Regions from separate parts of the Homo sapiens genome. Here region 2 is linked to region 1. Evidence: promoter capture Hi-C in human tissues and cell types (Jung and others, 2019). All regions are on one chromosome and are shown on one strand. The core of a region is centred on a gene start or on the middle of the fragment in contact, and the rest is flanking DNA. Distances in the headings are between cores, read along the strand shown.

Region 1 (4,506 bases), core at 99-2,598:
TAAGGGAGTGTCCCAGGCGTTGGTCCCGGCAGCCACACCTCGCTTCGCCTTTGCTCACTCATGGAGAGCCCTCAGCCGCCTCCCACTGCCGCTCCTGAATGCGCCTCACACATCCAGATTTGAAAGCACCCATAGGGCCGCCGCCTCCCACCTCCCGAGGAATCCGCTGCGCTGGGCCCGCAGGGAGGCAGGCTGGACGGCCCGGGCGCCTCCCCATTGGTTGGCCGGGCCGGGCTCGACTCCCTCGCGCGGCTGCCGGCCACAGGCTCACCTCCCTTCCCGCCGCGCCCGGGGAGAGGAAGCGAGGTGGCCTTTACCCCTGCGCAGGCCGGCCAGGAATGCGGGGCCGCGCTTCCCACTCTACCCGCCCGAGGGCTGAGGACGGCGGAGGCGAGAAGCGACGCGCAGAGTCCGGGCGCCGAGTGGTGGAGACGCGTCCCAGGCCGTTCGGATCGGGGCTGCACACGGGCTGGGGCGAGGCCCGGGCCGCTGGTTCCCGCCCCCTCCCGGAGCCATTCGTCCCCCGCAGACAACACGACGGGAGGGACCCACGCGCGGCCGCCGGTGCCCCTAGTCAGCCAAAAGCGAGCCCCACTGGCGGGCACCCCCACGAGGCCTGCGCCCGAGGTGCGCCGATCTCCGGGTGCGCCGAGGCCCCCGAGGGTAGGCGCGCGCGGTGCCCAGGCCCTTCCAGACCCCGCACCCCGGGCGGCCTTCCTTGGGGGCGCCTTTTCCGCACCGCGAGCGGCCCGCGTTGATGCCCGGCCGGGCTGGGGGAGTCGCCAAGTTTGCGAGACGCGCGCAGTGCAACCGCGCGTCAGGCGCGGGGACGGCCGGTGACCTGGGCACCCGCGCGCCCCCGAGGAACCTGCGCGTGGGCAGCGCCCGGTGCGCGGCCCGGGAAGGGAGCGGGTGCCCTCGCCGGGGTCGCCGCTCCCGTGGGGTGTTTCCAGGCTGCTCCGCGCTCGCGGGGCAAGGGCGCAGCGGGGGCCAGGGGGACCCCCGCGCCGCGCCGCCCCAGCCCCCCGCCAGCCCAGGGGAGGGGGCTTCCCACAATGCCCAGCGAGCTCCAGCCCGCACTTCCGCTGTCCGGCTGCCCGCGGGGGGGAGAACGGACCCCCGGCGCGGCCCCCTGCGACCCCGCGGCGCGGCGCCGGGAGCCGAGCGAGGGGCGGGGCCGGCGGCCGGGCCGGCGTGGGCGGGGCCCGGGGCGGTGGCCGCGGCCGGGGCGCGGCGCGGGCCAATCAGCGGCGGCCGGGCGCGCGCCGGGGGGCGGGGTCAGGGTCCGCGGGCGGGGCGCGCGCGCGCGGGCGGCGGGGGCCGCGGGGTTGGAGCGGGCGCGGGGGCGCGCGCCGGCCTGACGGACCGACGGACGGACGGACGGACCGAGCAGCCCCGGCGAGCGCGCAGCTCGGACCCGCCCGGACGCAGCGCCCTCCCGGCGGCGGCGGCGATCACCGGCGCCGGCCCGGCGGCCGCGGCGCCCGCCCTCGCCCGCGCCCCATGGGGTCACAGGTAAGCGGCGCCGGCTCATTGTCCGCGCGGCCGGGCGGGCGCATCGCGGCGGGGGCCGGGCCCGGAGCCGGGAGCCGGGAGCCGGGGCCGCTGCGAGCCCGGGCGCGCCCCCGCCGCCGGCCGCCCCGCCACGCCCCGCCCCGCGGGGGCGCCCTCCCGGGGGCCATCGGCGCTCCCAGCTGCGGCGCGGGCTCCGGGGGCGGCGGCGGAGACCCCGGCCCGGCCCCCGCGGGTGCCCCCCAGGCCGGCGGCGCGGGGCGGGGCGCGCGGGGGCGGCGCGGGTTCCCCGCGGGGCTGAGCGCGGAGGCGGCTGGGCTGCCCCGGCCCCTCGGCCCCCGGCACCTCCCGCCGCCGCCGCGCTCCCTCCCCGGCACCTCCGAGAGGGGAATTTTCCAGCTGGTAATTTCTGCTGCGTCAACGCCTGGCCCCGAGGCAGCCCGGGGGCGTCTTGGCGCCCCCCGCCCGCGCCCCCCGCCGGCACAGCCCAGCCGCACCCGGAGCCGCCCGCGCCGAGTTTGCCAAGAGTCGGAACTGCGGGAGGTGGGCGCGGGCGGGTCCCGGCGCCCTGAGGCCGGGGGGTCATTGTCTCCCCGGACGCCGGGCGCCGGCCTGGTCTCCATCTTAATCGCCGGCCGAACCGGGGCGCAGGGGCCTCGGGGCGGGGCGGCTCGGGGCGCGGAGGGCTCGGGGCGCGCGGGGCGGACGGGGCGCGCGGAGGAAGCGGGGTCCGCTGCGAGCCGCGTCTTTGTTTCTCTGTAAATAGACATGTCAGTTTCGCGGGGGAGCGCGAGCCGGTGTCTGACAACTCAATCCCTAAGGCAAACGGGGAATTCTCTGCGCCAGAGGGAGGGCTCCTGCTAGTTGGGGTTCCCCTGGCCCCGCTGACAGATTCACTGTTTGTAGGTTTAACGAAGCACACACAATAGGGCTGGACCGAGGAGCCAGGGTACAGACCAGATGGGGCGAAGAACGGATATTTTCTGACAGCGAAGAAATATAAACAAAAGAAAGTTTGAGATTCGCAGCGAATTTCCTCTCTCGCTTTCCGTGCTGCAATCTCAACGATGCATTTGGAGTGGATTACGGTGGCAAGATTGTGATCAGCATTGTTTAAAGAAATGCTAATTAGAAACGTGTTTAGCGCGCGGCCTGGGCGCAGACACCTGTGCGCCGAGAACTCACGGGCATTTTAATTGTATCGATTGTAGAATCTTTCATATTGGCTCTATTATCAGAGCTAACTTCCCGTTTGGGTAACAGACTGGATACATCTCTGCTGCTGGCACTCACGCTGCCTCTGCAAGGCACTATTTCACTCTACAAGAGTGGAAAATAGTTTGTTCATCAAAAGGAAATGTATAGAAGGGGTTTTTCACATGAATAATGAAGCAAGCGACAGTATTTATCAGAGTAGAACCTTTCTGCTCGGTGTGTTTTACGTGTTTCCAACTGGCACTTTTGGGCACCTCAGCCTGGTTACCACTGCAGAAAGGACTGAGGAGTGAGGGGAGTACTTGGGCACAAGTTACTGCAAATTTAGGTGGGAACTTACTGTGTCCCCTAAAAAGCTAGACATCTTCTCCGTAACTGAAGGAAGAGGGCTGGGGAGTTACTGTCAGATTTCTCCTTGGGGCGTGGAATGCACTCACTTTGAGGTGTTTAGAAATCCGAAATTCCGCCTTGCCTTCAGGCCAGCCTGGGGACAAGCATTTAATTAAGCCTCTCACTGACAGCATTATCCTGAACGTGAGAGTTTTCTTTTGCTTAGATGAGGTGATTTCTGTTCGGGTTTAGCTGTTTTGTGTGAGGATGAGTCGTTCTGTGCTCAGACCTGAGTTCCACTCCTGTTTCGGATGTTCGGGTTGGGTGGACTGTTACCTAAGGGCCCCCAGGTCAGTTCCACCAGGGCCAGGCTGACCCAGTGCCCTGCGTCCTCCGTCCCTCCCCAGCCCCTGGTGGTCACAGAGGTCAGGAGGTAAACCCTGTGAACGGTGAAACTGCTCCAAGGATTTAGAGGAAATGCCGTGGGGGGTACACAGTTGTTATTGTCAGACGATGTACTATTTACAAACACTGAATTAAATTTTAGCAGAGTGAACTTTCCAACACTGCCCTGACGTGGGGTTTTTAAATTAAGGGAAATTGGGCCACTCTGTCCCTGTGGCCTGTGTTTCTGGGACAGCGGTGCAGCTCCAGTGCTCTGTTCTCCATCAGAGGTCTTAGCCCGGCCTCTCAGAGCCCTGGAGACCCACTTCGTGCACGGTGCCTAGACGGCTCCACAGCCTGAGAACTGGAGCCGGTTCCTCCCACTGCCGTGACTGGTGCCCAGGCACCCGCTCCACTGCTGAGTTAAAGTGAGAGGAAAGGTCTAGAAGTCCTTGCCCCTTCCCATCCGCACACCCAGTGTCACGGCGTCTGCCGTGGTAGGTTCCCTGTCCTGGGGACTTCGTGTTCTTGCCTAAGTACCGTTCTTGTAAAAACTCAGGCTGCTGCTTCTCCCTGGGCTTTGCATGTTTTACCTGGAAGTCTCATGAGTGACCTTGAGTGATGGTTGATACTTCCCTCTACTGGTTTTTCTAGCAGATTTAAAAAAAAAAATACCCTTTGAATCTGTCCCCTCCCCTGGGGGAAAAATTCATCTTGTTGCTGCTAAGTTTGCTTGAATGGCCTGACTCCTAAGAATAAATGTTTGATTCAAAATCTCTATTAAGGCCACAGACTTATTCAGGGCTTTGAGAGGCCGCCGCCTTATCCTGATTGTGGTCCTCTTGCCGTCTGCCGCGGCTGCGGCGTAGCTGTGAACTTGTGCGGAGTGCTGGGGTCTTAGGCCATGGGGTCCATGGGAGGGATTTTCCTGCTTTTCTGTTATCACTTAGACCCTTTGAGTGCCTCACATATACAGACCCAGGCTTGGTGTTCTGGTTTGCTGGTGATGACAAAGGGCCCCAATGGTGTTGTTTATAGATGGAAAAGAGAAAGGATGTTTTTTAA
Region 2 (4,787 bases), core at 557-3,056, 130 kb after region 1:
TCTCATTCTCACCCAGGCTGGAGTGCAGTGGTGTGATCAGAGCTCACTACAGCCTCAACCTCCCAGGCTCAAGCCATCCTCCCACCTCAGCCTCCCGAGTAGCTAGGACTGCAGGCGCACATTACCATAAGCTTTTGTACAGACGGAGTCTCACTGTGTTGCCCAGGTTGGCCGTGAAGTGGGCTCAGGTGATCCTCCTGCTTCTGCCTCCCAAAGTGTTGGGATAATAAGTGTGAGCCACCACGCCTGGCCCAATCCCTGTCTTTCACCTTTGGCCACCATCAGGCCAAAGGTTGCCGGCAGGTTCTCAGGAGCAGCGTCTGGGGACACCTCCACCAGATCTCCCCGCAACCCCAGAATGCATCCCAGAAGGGTCTTGCAGTTGGGGGCTGCCCTCTTGCCCCTTCCTCATGTGAGCCCCTCACTGTGGCCATGACACAGGCCTGGCTCTGCTGGCCCTTGGCAGGGTGGGGACTGAGCCCCAACTCCTGGTGCTTCCTCCCAGTATTATGCGGAGTGTCACGGCGTCATCTACGTCATTGACTCCACCGACGAGGAGAGGCTGGCTGAGTCCAAGCAGGCGTTTGGTGAGTGCGGCCTGGCTGCTCTGGGAGGGATGGATGGTGAGTGGGGGCAGGTCCAGCTTGGGCAGCTCTGTGCCTGGGGCAGGCTCAGTGTCTGGTCAGAAGTGCTCCTGCCTAGTGGGTGACGGGGGGGGGGGGGGCAGAGGGAGTGGCTGTCACAGTGTCCACGCCTGTGGGCCCCTGGGCAGTCAGAGGCAGGATGCTGGGTGTGAGGCGCTGCCTCTCCTGCCCTCCCCAGAGAAGGTGGTGACCAGCGAGGCGCTGTGCGGTGTCCCCGTCTTGGTGCTGGCCAACAAGCAGGATGTGGAGGTGAGCCCCACCCCTGCCTCCCGCAGCAGCTTCCCGAGTCCCCAGCCTCCCCCACAGCAAGGGGAGCAGGTGTGCACCCAGACACCCCAGGCCCAGTGACTGCCCAGGGGGTACAGAGCCATTCTCAAGGCCTGCCCTGCCCCCAGCAGCTTCCCAAGCCTGGTTCCTCTCCAGACCTGCTGCTGCCAGCCCTGGAGGTTCTCCCACCTCAGGGCAGGCGCCCAGAGGCCTCTTCCTGCTATGCAGGGCACCTCTCCCCAGGAGGGCGGCCGTGTCTCAGGAGTGTGTGGCCAAGCTGTGGGGACACCCAGGTGAAACTCAGAGCTCAAAGAAGTGATGCTGGGGCCCTGGTGGGAGTCAGCTCTGACCCTTACCTGTTCCTGCTACCCTTGGAGGTGGCATCTGTGCCAGCCCCACCCCCAGGGCAGCCCCTCAAGACCCCTCTGAGGTGCCACTGCCCCCGGGAGCACTGGCCACGCTGAGTTCTAGCTGTTCTCTTGGAGTGGCTTTGCACAGAAGCAGCCCGGCGTCCAGAGGGCCAGGTGAATCTTCACTTCCTGCCTTCTCTGGGGTGGCTCTGTTGCCCCCAGCCTGTAAGGCTGGCCTCCCCTACAATCTCAGCCGACAAGAGGGACATCTGGTACGGGGCAGGGGTCTCCCCTCGGAGGAAAAGGGGAGGGGAGGGCTGCTTTTTGAAGACTGGGCAGGTGGTTGTGAGCAGAAGCCACCATGACTGCAGACTGCCTCCATCACTGATGCAGGGCTCCCACCTCTCCATCATCCCCGGCTGTGTGGGCCCCTGGGACCTGCCTCCGCCACTGCCCAGGAGGCCTCAGTCCTCAGCGCCCCACCTCGGGGCTCAGGGTGTCCCCCAGGGAGGGGATGGGGGGTGGACTCCTTGGAGCCGTGTGGACGTCTAGTTTGTCTCAGGCACTACCAGCCATGTTCAGCCTCGGGCTGAGCACAGGGTCCTCACTGCTGTGGTCTCTGTGGGAGACACTGGGACCCTGGTGGAGCTCTGGCTGTTTCCCTGGGGTGAAGGGCATACGCCCTTCTGAGAGTCCCGGGCCCACAGGCAGGACAGGGCCAGACGTGGGGGCTGCTCCTCACGGCCTTACCTCCCCCAGACGTGCCTCTCAATCCCTGACATCAAGACGGCCTTCAGCGACTGCACCAGCAAGATCGGCAGGCGAGATTGCCTGACCCAGGCCTGCTCGGCCCTCACAGGGTGAGTGGGGGCTGCACCTGCGGGGGCTTTGGGGACCGAGACCCCCCGCCTCACACCCGCTGTCTTCACAGCAAAGGGGTGCGCGAGGGCATCGAGTGGATGGTGAAGTGTGTCGTGCGGAATGTGCACCGGCCGCCGCGGCAGAGGGACATCACGTAGGCGCAGCCGCGCTGCCGTCGGGACGGCTGGTCCCCTGGTGCTGGAGGAGTGGCCTCCTGTTGGCTCCCATGCTGCTGATCTGGGGGGTGGGTTTGCTTTGCTTTGGGGTTCTTCTATTTACTTTGTTTTCTCGAAGACAAACTTTCCTCTATGTCTGGAAAAGCGTAGGCATCCGGAGGCTTTGGAGGGGAGTCTGGCAGCCCGGCTGGCCCAGGCCCTGCAGCGGCAGCCTTTCCACAGGGCGCAGCGGCGGCCTTTCGAGGCCCTTTCTGGGGGGTCTGAGGGAGACCTGGTTGGGAATTGGGGCTCCAGTGCTCAGGCTGGCTTGGGCTGCATGAGGACAGCCCTGTGGGACCCTCGGGAGACCCCGTGGCTGTCTCCGCCCCATCGAGGAGGAGGCCCGTCAGCCATGGCTGCCATCTGGCTTCTGCCCTGTGACCCCGTGACCCCGTGACCCCGGAAGTGGTCTGGGGCTGATCTTGCCTTGAGGAAGACCCAGGCCATGTTCCCAAAGGCCAGCGGGGGCCCTGGATTGTGATGCAGCCTCGGGACAGGGCTGAGGCCTGCGGGGGAAGACCTATACCCCACGCCTGGGCCTGGCTTCACCTCACCCTAATCCCCCGGGAGGGAGCTGACTGATGCAAAAAGCTGAGGGGGCCTGCTGGGAGTGGCTGTTTTTATGCCCCAGCCCCGCAAGTTGGGGAGTGTTTGTGGGGGTCCAGAGCCCTCCCCCAGCCAGGAGAGAACCTCCCGGAGGGGTTCTCTGTGGGGCCCTGTGTCCCCTGCTCGGGAGTAAGGCTGGTCCTGGGGTCCTCCCTGCACGGACCCCACTGGGCCTGCCGAGTGCTGTGTTCTTCCTCAGTCTGGCTGTGGGCAGGAGCGGCCTGCCCAGTGTCACCCAGGGTGAGTGCAAAATAAAGACGGCGAGTGTGGCTCTGTCCATCCCTTCCCTCCTGGAGGGTGGAGGCTCCTGGCTGTTGGACACGGTGATGGTGTTACTGGGCTGCTCAGGGGCTGGTGGGCAGGTGAGGGGCTCCCCAGGTGGGCCTGGAGAGTCCAGGCACTCCCTTCCTGCGGATGTGGGAAGGACATGGGGTCCTGGGAGGAGCTGCTGGGAAGGGGCATGAGTCAGGGTGGGGGTGGCGCAGCAGCTGCGGGGCTGTGACTCACAGGAGTCGGGCCCTGGAAGTCCCCGCGTCCTCTCCAGGGGACCCTGTGTGTGTTCTGCAGGTTGGTTCCCAGGACCTGGGGGGGACCTCCAGCCCCGGGAACCTGGCCGTGCTGGGGAGGCGAGTGGCTGGTGCAGCCCCCCGGTTGCTCTGGGTGCATCGGGAGGCTTCAGAGCCTGCCCCAGAGAGGGAGAAGCTTCACTTCCCGGAAAGCATGGGAGGCCTGGAGGAGGTCTTTGGCAGGTCCCCTCTCGGGAAATCCCCTGTGAGTTGGGAGTGGGAGGAATTCATAAGTGGGGGGTTAGTGTGGGCCCCGGCGACTAGGGCTGGCCTGAGCCCCATCCTGTTCTTCCAGCAATGATACCCTCCCAGGCCCTGACCCTCGCTGAGCTTCAGGGGCCCCTGCCACGTGCCACAGCCACTGGGGGCAGAGGTGGCACTCCCCACTGATCCTCCCAGGGAGGGTCTGTCTGAGGTAGGGGAAGCCCCGGGCAGCAGTTCTGATGGCAGGCAGCCTGAGGGATCTGGGCACAGCGGGCGGCTCAGGTGTCCCCGGCTGCCCTCCCAGTAGCTGTGCAACTACAACCAGTTTTATGAAAAAGCTTTATAAAAATAAGCTTTAAGAAACCTCATTTCTTCTATTTAAAAAAAAGCCTCTTTCAGTGCAAGTGGGGTGCCAAGGATGTAGAATAAATAAGAGGGGGCCAGGATCAGTGCACAGGGAGGAAGCGCTCACGGACGCTCCGCTCCAGCCCGGGCATCCTGGCCACGCGCAGCGCCTGCAGCAGCCGCACCAGCAGCGCCCCGTCCTGCGCCCCCAGGAGCTCCGTGAGCCGCCGACGCAGCTTCAGCTGCAAGGCCGCGCGGCCCGCCCTTGGTGTCGGACCCCAGCCCTCCGGGGCCTCGAGGGCCTGCAGCAGCCGCTGCAGCCTCTTGATGGAGATGTCCTGGAAAGCCACAAAGTCGATGACGGCACGCTCACACTCCTCAGCTCCTGCAGTGGGGTGGGGAGGCAGCGGTCCGATCATTTCACCCACACACACTGGCGGGGGCTGCCAGGTACCCTGCTTTCTGGGCCCCACTCGGGGGGTTTGCAGGAGAGAGAAATCCCTGTGCAGTGAGCCGTGCTGGAGAGGGCAGTGCAACGATGGGGACTGGAGAAGGGGCAGGAGCCTTCGGTCAGAGAGCTGGAGCAAAGGCCTAGGGGGCAGGAGCGGCCACTCGGACCTTGGCTGCAAGAGGCAAGGGGGCCCAGGCAAGGGCTTGGGGCTCCTGGGCCATCGGAAGGGGCGAGTTGGGACCTGCAGATGGACCGGACCTGACTTGATGTTAAGGGGG

Evidence for each region. The method cuts DNA at HindIII sites, captures the fragments that hold promoters and counts their contacts. A contact is called where the count stands out against the background at its distance.
Region 2: a contact is called between a fragment that was not itself captured here and the fragment with the promoter of ZBTB46 in region 1, in 1 of the 25 tissues and cell types used here (IMR-90 fibroblasts).

The regions. Positions count from the first base shown.
Region 1 is chr20:63,828,106-63,832,611 of GRCh38, reverse strand. It overlaps ZBTB46 (zinc finger and BTB domain containing 46), which reads left to right and starts at 1,348. Exons shown (of 5, transcript NM_001369741.1): 1 at 1,348-1,515. RefSeq lists a silencer at 1,191-1,330 and an enhancer at 2,913-3,604. The HindIII fragment of the contact is 9,346 bases long and covers 1-4,506 here.
Region 2 is chr20:63,697,936-63,702,722 of GRCh38, reverse strand. It overlaps ARFRP1 (ARF related protein 1), which reads left to right. Exons shown (of 8, transcript NM_001267547.3): 5 at 506-587; 6 at 823-893; 7 at 2,021-2,121; 8 at 2,193-4,076. The coding sequence ends at 2,280. It overlaps TNFRSF6B (TNF receptor superfamily member 6b), which reads right to left. Exons shown (of 3, transcript NM_003823.4): 3 at 4,039-4,443. The coding sequence ends at 4,160. RTEL1-TNFRSF6B (RTEL1-TNFRSF6B readthrough (NMD candidate)) reads right to left here. Exons shown (of 38, transcript NR_037882.1): 38 at 4,025-4,443. Among named protein-coding and RNA genes, the nearest start is that of TNFRSF6B, 3.7 kb to the right of the region's middle. RefSeq lists enhancers at 3,082-3,161, 2,302-3,183, 3,232-3,281, 3,352-3,531, 3,772-3,821. The HindIII fragment of the contact is 4,084 bases long and covers 1-3,848 here.